2 separate regions of the Homo sapiens genome follow, and region 2 is linked to region 1. Evidence: promoter capture Hi-C in human tissues and cell types (Jung and others, 2019). All regions are on one chromosome and are shown on one strand. The core of a region is centred on a gene start or on the middle of the fragment in contact, and the rest is flanking DNA. Distances in the headings are between cores, read along the strand shown.

Evidence for each region. The method cuts DNA at HindIII sites, captures the fragments that hold promoters and counts their contacts. A contact is called where the count stands out against the background at its distance.
Region 2: a contact is called between a fragment that was not itself captured here and the fragment with the promoter of REEP1 in region 1, in 4 of the 25 tissues and cell types used here (IMR-90 fibroblasts, dorsolateral prefrontal cortex, lymphoblastoid cells and 1 more).

What each region holds. Positions count from the first base shown.
Region 1 is chr2:86,334,973-86,339,890 of GRCh38, forward strand. It overlaps REEP1 (receptor accessory protein 1), which reads right to left and starts at 2,654. Exons shown (of 9, transcript NM_001371279.1): 1 at 2,507-2,654. The coding sequence starts at 2,538. The HindIII fragment of the contact is 14,274 bases long and covers 1-4,918 here.
Region 2 is chr2:86,616,572-86,621,489 of GRCh38, forward strand. It overlaps RNF103-CHMP3 (RNF103-CHMP3 readthrough), which reads right to left. Exons shown (of 8, transcript NM_001198954.1): 3 at 3,759-3,898. The coding sequence starts at 3,890. It overlaps RNF103 (ring finger protein 103), which reads right to left. Exons shown (of 4, transcript NM_005667.4): 2 at 3,759-3,898. CHMP3-AS1 (CHMP3 and RNF103 antisense RNA 1) reads left to right here. Exons shown (of 6, transcript NR_183901.1): 6 at 605-878. Among named protein-coding and RNA genes, the nearest start is that of RNF103, 4.8 kb to the right of the region's middle. RefSeq lists a silencer at 721-770. The HindIII fragment of the contact is 6,359 bases long and covers 1-4,918 here.

The sequences.
Region 1 (4,918 bases), core at 1,404-3,903:
GGCAAGAGGCAAAACTGGGATTTGAACCATGGGCGTTCTGACTCCAAACACAGTATTCCTCCCCTTGATAAGAAGTTCCTCAAGGTATGTGGAGTGTAGAATATTGGGCTGAATCAATAATATCCTTGAATTACAAATATATGTACATATATGCAATACAGGAAAATTTCTTGAAGAATATGCCCTCCATCATTATTATTAGTTATCTCTGTGTGGTGGAAATGTGGATGATTTTCAGTTTATCTTTTCTAATTTTCCTGTAATTAACAAATATTGTCTTCATGAAACAGGTATTGCTTATTAAAAATGATGTTCATAACTCATAATCAATATGCTTATGCTAGGTTTCTACAGGGAATTAGGGACTGGGGGATAAGTGGTATCCCTGACCTTTTGGACTTGATAGTGGAAGTAACAATCCCAAATCCCATCAACTCTCCTTGGGCCACATAATGCTGTTCATTTAAATTCTCTGAAGTCTCGGTTCTAGGGAGTGTGGTTGTTTTAGAAAGCAACAGCACATCCCTGAGACACCTCCCAAATATATGCCTCTCCTCTCCACCCCCATCAGTTGCTCATTGTAAAAAAGGGGGAGGAGCCGGGCGTGGTAGCTCACGCCTGTAATCCCAGAACTTTGGGAGGCCGAAGCGGGCGGATCACTAGGTCAGGAGTTCAAGACCAGGCTGGCCAACATGGTGAAACCCCGTCTCTACTAAAAATACAAAAATTAGCTGGGCGTGGTGGCAGGCGCTTGTAATCCCAGCTACTCGGGAGGCTGAGGCAGGAGAATCGCTTGAACCCAGGAGGCGGAGGCTTCAGTGAGCCGAGACTGTGCCACTGCACTCTCCAGCCTGGGCGACAGAGCGAGACTCGGTCTCAAAAAAAAAAAAAAAAAAAGGGCAGGGGTGAGGGAGGTGCTAATAAAACTAATGATAGTCACATGACCCAGTGCTAATAAAACTAATGATAGTCACATGACCCAGGATCAGATGCCCTCACTCCCAGCCCAGCAGGACCTACAGAGAGCCCACCAGCCAGGCCAGCTCAACTCTCCAGCCCCACCCTGAGGGCTTCCCAGAAGCCACTGGCAATATCGATCCCAGAGAGGAAACACCACCCTGAAGGCAAGACAGTGTTGGTCAGGCATGAGGCTGGGCAAGGCGTGTCAGCCACTTTCCTGTATTATTCATGTCGGCTCTGCCAGCAGAAATCTTCTAAATATTTAACATGCCACCTCAAGGTGCAGCGCAAACACCCCGCAGTCAGGAACAGCTGTGGAGAGGCCTTCACGGAATGACTTGGGGGCTGAGAGGCACAGACACTGGCTTTGGGAGGAAAGCCCTGAATGGTGGCGGGAGACAATGCTGAGATCCACTTCGGAAGGGAAAATCAGTAAAGAAGGGAAGGGAGATGGGTGGTGTTTCAAAACGTGGGGAGTGATGGTGCACAATCACTGGGGTCCAGAGCCCCGTGTTCTCAGACAAAGAAAAAGCCCGAGGTGCCTGCCACCCTCCTCCCCGCCTTAGACTCCCCACACCCATTTCAGCCCCTGCTAGCTACAGCAGGTGGCAAATCTGTTCTGACTCAGGCCAGGATGGTTAGGGAAGAACAGGGACTTGGAACAGCCACGTCTATCTCCAAAGGAGAATAAATCCACCGGGGAAGCTCTTCAAACGCCTACAGGTCCTGGGGCTTGAAGGAGAAAATCGGCCCCCACGCCCACCCCCAATGACTTCACACAGACCTCACCCTAGATGACTCTGCGCTCTCCTGCAAGGCCTGGGAGGTGTCATCGCCACCATGCGGGTGGCTGTCACTTGAAAATTTCCCGTGCATTCCTGGAGGTACCTGCCCCTGTCTCTCAATCCCCTGCAAAAGGAGTCGGAGCCGGGGGCTCCAGGCGTTTACTCCAAGATTCACATGCGTCTTCCCATGTCCCAGCTGCCTTTGCCGCTGTCGATGCAGACACCTAAAAAGGAGGATTTTTCCAACCCCACTGGGAGCCCCGCCTCTGCCTCTCCACCCGTTCCGCGCTGACCCTCCAGGCAGCGCCCCTGGTTCGTCTGCGCTGTCCTTTCCACCTGACAAAAGCTGGGGCGGCGGGGCGCGGCGCCGGGCGACCTCACATTTCTGCCAAAGGAGAGAGACGCGTGTCCGCGGTGCGCCCATTCGGGGCCTCTGCAAATCGACCGAGCTGAGGAACAAAGCGGCCAGCGCGCGGCGAGACGCAGCCCCCACGGAACCCCCGAGCGCCCCAGCCCTCGCCGTCCCGGCCCAGCCCCCCGCAAGCGGCCGCCGGCGCCGGCTGCCTCCTGGGCAGCAGCCGCGTCCTGCGCCGCCCGTCCGCCCGCAGGCGTCCTCGGCGGCTACTGTACCTGCTAAATTTAGCTGCGCCGGGTATTAATAGCCCGAGCCACTGGGACCGGGCGCTGTAGGGGCGCGCGCAGCCCGGGGCCGGGGGCGGGGAGGGAGGGGACGGAGGGGCGCGGGGGAGAAGGCCACTTACACCACCAGCCTGGAGATGATCCATGACACCATGGCGGGCAGGCGGGCGGGCGAGGCCCGGGCGGCGCGGCTCGGCTAGGCTGCGGGCGGCGCGGGCTGCTGCGGCGTTCCCGGAACGTCAGTCAGCTCACGGCAGCCGCCGCCAGACTGAGCGCGCCCGCCGCCCTGCCCGGCGTTCGCGCGTTGGCGCAGCCGCGGCACGTTCTGGCGGCGGCGGCGGCGGCCCCAGCCCCCCGGGGCTCGGCGGGCCCGCAGCGATTGGGCGGTGAGCTGGTCAGGGCACCCGCGGGCCCGCCCCGTCCCGCTCGCCCTGGCCCCCGGCTGAAGGCGGGCGCGTCCTGCGCGCTCCCCGGGGCACCGGCCCCGCCAAAGGAACCCTGCAGCGGCCCCGTTTGCAGGGCAGGGACCCGGGTGCTGCCCCACCCTCAGCGTTCCAGCGGAGAAACTGAAGTCCGAACCTGAACCTCGGGAATCTGTCTGCACCTGTCTAGGTGGGATGCTGTCATCCCTCATTCAGCTAGTGCGTTAGCCTCATAAAGGGTTTACCTGGATCCAGACCTAACCTCTTCAGTCTGTCCGTTGCTCAGCACTTTCTGCATAAGAAACAAACCTGGGCGCTTGCCTCCCTACTTAAAATTCTACAGAGTCCCTATATGATCGTGGTACCTGCCTAGAACCGTGTTGCCAAGACCATTCCCCCAAATAGTCCTCTAGCTCTTTTCCCTCCAGGCATCTTGGACTCAAATATTTGCTGTTTCTTCTTCCCTGTCAGTACACGCCACGCCTCATCGTCCTGCCTTGGTTTGATTCAGCTCCTTCTTCTAGGCTGGGCTGAAGGGCTACTTCTTCCTAGGGAAGGCCTTTCCTTGGGGGCTGCTCCGGGCCCTAGGAGGAGACTAGAAGCTGCGACTGCTTAGCACCAGTGCCCCGCTGAGCCACGTTGAACTCTTAGGCAAAAGGGAACTTGTGCACCCTATATAAACGTTTTTATGTATTTTTTAAAATACCGTATTAAATATTATGGTGGTTTTTTTTGTTGTTGTTGTTTTTTTATGAGACAGAGTCTCGCTCTGGGGTGCAGTGGCGCGATCTCGGCTCACTGCAAGCTCCGCCTCCCGGGTTCAAGCGATTCTTCTGCCTCAGCCTCATGAGTAGCTGAGATTACAGGAGTGCGCCACCACGCCCAGCTAATTTTTGTATTTTTAGTAGAGACGGGGTTTCACCATGTTGTCCAGGCTGGTCTCAAACTCCTGACCTCGTGATCCGCCCGCCTTGGCCTCCCAAAGTGCTGGGATTACAGGAGTGAGCCACCTATTATGTATTTTAGTTGCTGAATTTTATGGCACCTCTTAAATGTTGCACCCTCACTGAGCGCCTCACTCTGCTCACCCTAGTCCCGGCCGCAGATAGTACATTATTCTGTTACACTGGAAACGCTTTGTCCTCTACTCCTAGGCTCTGCTGCTGCTTTTCCCACCCTCCAATAGCTTAGGTTCTGCGTGGTGCTCCCAGCGCCCTGTCCTTTGCTGATGATGGTGTCATGTATAATTCAGTGTCAGATGTGAGAAGCGCAGGAGACAGCTTAGTACTCTCAGATGTAGCAGAATCTGTGCGTGCGTGTGCCTGATATAGTCAGAAGAAAGACTTCACGGACAACAAAGGGACTGCAGATGAGACATGCTCTCATATCTCAGGTCTCCAAAGAACCCATAAAATAGCTGTAATGTAGCAGTTTTTTCATGCTGCCTTGACCCAGTTTTGAGGCTCAGGCTGGAGGCTGGTCAGTTCCCCTTCTCCAGCAGTCTATTAACTGCATACCCCCAACCACTTCCGTTAGCAGGCTCTCACACGCGGGACACTATACACCTGTCCAGGGCTAGGCACCAAACAACTAGTTACAGCCCCTGTACTTCAGAACCCGCTGAAATTATCCAAATTAGCCTATCCTATATCTGCTTGCCTTATTTCACTCTTTCCTTCCCTCAGAAACCATGATAAAGATGTTTGTCCACAATTCCCCTCTCTCCCTCTCTCTGTGACAGACCCTGGCCCTGAGTGGACCTGCATGGTGTGCTGTGATCTCTCCAGGAAACTGTGGATATAAAAAGCTCTAAAACTCTTTCTAGCTTCTCTCTCTTGATCTGTGTCTGGCCCCACCATATCTCACTCAAGGTAAGGTTATACGGGTAAAACAATGCTCCACGGGGAAAAGCTTTCCATACTTACTAGGCAAAGAGAACACCAAAGCTAGATCAGGACAGCACCCAGCACAGAGGACCTTCCTGAGACCTCCCTTCCCCTCCATCCATACCCCTCACCTATGCTCCCTGCGTCAGAAAGGCTGTTACCCATCTTGCAGGGGGAGCAGCGGAGGGATGGACTACTGTGGTTCAAAGAGACCCTGTTGGTGGGA
Region 2 (4,918 bases), core at 1,700-4,199, 280 kb after region 1:
ACAAAACTTTTGTCTAGGAGCAAAGATAAACAAGTTTAAAATCAGCTATTAACTCTTGTCAGCCAAACAGGAAATATATTGATGTAATACTTCAGTAAATATTGACCCAAAGCTTTATTTTAAATCATATGATGCTTCTCACTGCTACCTCAATTCCAGTGACTTTAAATTCCATATGATGTAACACAGCCAGTAGGGAACAAATATGTCCTTCTTTGAACTATGACAAAAGTCAAAACGGAGAAACAGAAATGTTAGGAGGAGGATAAATCCATAAAACCCATAAATTATGCTAACTTCTCCACTTCAGAAGCCTATCCACTGTGCCATCTGCCTCTCTGACCAAGGGTCTTTTGAAAGAAAAGTAACCATCTTCTATTTGTAATGCTATGAAGACTGGGGCCAAAGAATCCACAAAACTGTTAAATGAATAGCTAATGAAAGATATGAGCTTGGGTTAGGGACAAAGGAGAAAAACAATGTTAGGAATAACTTAGAAAAAAGAGCACTTGGTTCTACATGTATTTCATAGTGTGTCATTGGTAAAGATGTCATATGTATGTTGCTACCTTGAAAACTAAAATAAATTCTGTTCACATTACAGAGACTATACGTAACATGGACCTGGAAAAGCTTAAAAATATGAAGAGGATTGAACTGGCTGCCATCTGTGCATCTTCATTTATGAAAACACTCCTCATAGACTTAAAACAAATGACAGAGAACAAATTAGTCAGCTTCTTCTAAAATACAGTGGTCTCCCCTTACCCTCAGTTTCACTTTCTGCAGTCAACTGCAGTCCGAAAATACTACATACAATTAGATATTCGGAGAGAGAGACACCACATTTACATAAATGTTATTTCAGTATACTGTTATAATTGTTCTATTTTTATTAGTTGTTGTTGTTACTGTGCCTAACTTACACATTAAACTTTATCACAGGTATGTATGTATAGGAAAAAACATAGACTATATAGGATTTGGTACTATCCACGGTTTCAGGCATCCACTGGGGGTCTTGGAACGCATCCCCCTCAGATAAGGGGGGACTACTGTAAACAGAAAATAACAACAATTCAAATTGTTAAAAACAATTCTTGAAAGTTATCCTTTACAATAGATTAATATATATGATCTGAGCTGAAAGAATGGCAAGCAATGGAGACAATATTTCTCTTCTGTTTCTAGTAGATATTTTCAATTTTAAGCATAGTTTTAAAAAGTACAACCCTCTTTTAAGGGCTTAAACCAAGGTGGCTGTGCTGATTGGCTTAGCTGGCTAGTTCACAGTGCCAAGGACAGGGTTTCAATCTCATTCTTCTCAGTTGTCCTGCCAGAGATTGTTCTTTCAGACCAGGCCAGCCATTTGACAGATGTAAGCCACTGGCCTCAAGGAACACAAGCCAGACAGTGGTGGTCAATGCAAACCTTGAGCATCACTGGAAAAATTAAGCAGGTGTCCTACTGCATTATTTCCATACATAGAAAAACCACAGAAATACATTCTATTTTTAAAGAGTTGTTTTTCAACTATTAATACCTATAAGGTTTAAAAATATTTTCAGAGAAAAAAAATTTAGCAACTAGAATTTATAATGCTACCATTTACTATCATTATTTGTCCTTCACTTCATTTGTCACCTTACCAGAGAATTCCTTGCCACTCTCATCTCCTTAATCTGCTTATTTTTCTTCTTACTACTTTCCACTAACTGATGTTATATTAAATATTTATTTATTTGGTGTCTGCCTCTCCCAACTAGAATGTGAGCTGCCTGACAGAGCAAGGCCTTAGCTTGGTGTGTGTTTCTGGTATATCTTCAGGGCCCAGAACAGGGCCTGGCACACCCACAACTGAATAAACTTTTGATGAATTCTGTCACATATTTATTACAGGAGCTTAATTCATGGATATCTTTAACAGGACATCAAAAACAGTAGATCATTTACAAGCCAAGAACATACTGCTAACTATTGAACCAGAATGTATTTGTTGTCTATAGGCAGCAGCCTATATAGCAAAAGAACTCAAGACTTTTGACATAGCCCTTCCAAGTTTCAAAGGTGTGCAACATCTTCACCATTTATTTCCATGGGATCATTCAATGTGGGTGACATTTAGACACTGAAAGCAGGGCAGTGGGACTGGCTATTCAATTCATCCTCAGTAATAAAATCTAAAATTATCAAAACCAGTGTCTTTCTCAATCAGACTATTAGAAATAAGTACCAGAGAAAAGAAACAGAATAACAATATACTTATACATTAAAGCTTTAAAAAAGCTCCACCTTATTTTTCAACTCCAACTGACACAGAAATAAACTAAAATTTAAATAGATAATGTATAGACTACACTCATACTCTCACATTCTCTCCCATTGCTGAACTTAAAAATTACTGAATTAGATTATCCGGAAGGTAAAAGGACAAATGCAATAGGAAGGATACAATAAAGAAAGGCCATGGATGAACAATGTAAATCTCTGGAAGAATTCCCAAACCTCAACCCTTTAGCACAGTGGACTACAGTACCATTTTATCCTTTTTAGATGTATATGTATTTATTTGAGGCCACGTGCAACAGAAAAATATACCTATTTACAATCATACTGCTAGTCAGTGACAGTACCAGACCTGTAACAGCGACAGTACCAGACCTGCAACTAATGTCTCTGAACTCATAGCTTTTCCTACCATATTTTGCAGTCTTTACTCTCAGAAAGAAATATGAAGAAACTGTTTTAATTTTCATGCCCTGAATCAAACTTTGCCCACTCCAGTGTGAAATGATAAGAGTACCAGTCAAGAAATCAGAAGACCTGGGTTTCATCCTGGTTCAATACTACCAACTAGTTCCATGACCTTGGGCAAGCTACTTCACCTCTCAGAGTCTCAGAAAGGGTTAGTCTGATATAATTTCCAAGCTTCAGCCATTCACAGACTACATTAATAATTTTAGCCACATTCACGCTGTTAATTTACTTGATATGTCACTTTGAATGTACAGTTTTAAAATGTAAATAACTTTAGTCCTGTCCTAAGCAAAATTTATGAAATTTATGTTAATATAATTTTTCTAATTTACATTAAAATATGTAAATGATAATGCATGCCCACTCACCATAAATTACATCTTGGAAAGCATAAAATATTTTTAAGGTCCATCATAGCTCTAAAATTCTAATATGCTAATTAAGTCTCACAGTTTTGCTATCATAAAAACAAGGGTTAAAAATTATAATCTCATCATCCTGAGTTACGTAATGAGCACCCCCACCATTTTCCACAACAGCTCCTCTATAGTCACAAAGTTGGCTATTTCCCTAATACAATGATTCCTTTACTTTTACTTTAGGGTTCTTACTTATATATAAAAATTACTCAGGCCACTGAATTAAAAACTGGAGATAATAAAAACTAAGAGAAACAGTGCAAATCACTAAATAAAAGGGATATATATGTGTATTTCTCAATTCAACAAAGGTCCAATAACTAAAATAGATTTGCTTCTGGGGATTCTAAACAAAAAGTTGACCCCCATCCCCCATCTTTCTCTTTCCCACTACTCAATTTTCATCTTCCTCAGTCTCCAAAACCTTTTTAAGAAGATACTGGAGCCTCCCTAAGAGAACTGAGTTATGTGTGAGAAACAAGACACAAGGACACGGAAGTGTCACTGGCTGGTACATACTATTTTGGTAAAAATAATTTTTTTAGGGCTCTCGAATTATCAAATTATTACTGCTTTTCATACCTGAACCAGCCAGATGCCATCTTTTGTGTCTTCCACAAGCTCATAGAAGTGCATTTCACCACTGAAATTGGTACTAGAAACCGATTCGGATGCTTCTTCTTCCTTGAGAGCAGAATAGAGCTCACCCTCCATCAAGTCACCTGAAGAAAGGAAAAGAATAACACTAATAAGGTTGCAAGAATCCTAGATTCCCAATTTCAGTAATTCTATTTTTTACACTGTTAAGAATCATGATATTGTACTTTCATTGTATTTTATAGACAAGAACTACTAGAAGAACCTGGATATACCCACTTAGGAGTCATACATTCAATAAATATGTAGTAAGAACTTCCTATGCATCAGGGAAAAGTGAACAAAATAGACAAAAATCCATCTCTTATAGAACAGGGCTTATATTTTAGTGGGGTTATCACATAATTATTAGGAACTTACCAAATTTGTACCACTCCAAAAAGGCACAACTTTCTTAATTATTTAGTTTTATGAATGACACATACAGGCTTCATATACATTTTTAAACAGTATGGCTTATATGCTTCTTACTTAAAAGATGTAGAATTGGGTTCACAGAATTTGCCATCAGCCCTGCTTAAAAGAGCAACAGGGTTTGTATGACTTGGAGGTTAGAACTTTACCTGTTAGACAGAACAAACTCCATATTCATATACAAATTTATATTATAAATTTAGAGCTTGTATCATTAAACAAAAAGGAAAGGAAAACACTAAAATCAAATTATTTTAACTTTCGCCTTAAATATTAAACAGTGAGAAACCAAGTACTGCACCATGATAGCAGCAAAACCATTCACAATAAACACTTAAATTTTAAACTGCTATACCATGACTTTTCTGCCATAAAACGTGTGATTTGAGTCATACTGGGCTGTGCGTCTTAAAGTTAAATGTGGACTTCTAGTACATTCAATGTGCCAAGTATTTTTAGGCCCAAAAGAAGGCAATAATAAATAACAGTCAAAAGAAAAAAAAATGTGTGACCAAATTATTTTCCATAAAAAAATGATGGCTTTGGCAGTTGAGACACTTCTCATCTCTAAACCAAGAGAGTTTATTTATTAGAGATCTTTTACCCTAGTTACTCCACTTCTTCCCCCTATGGTAGAAATAAGAATCGCCATAAACCAGTCAGCAAACAAG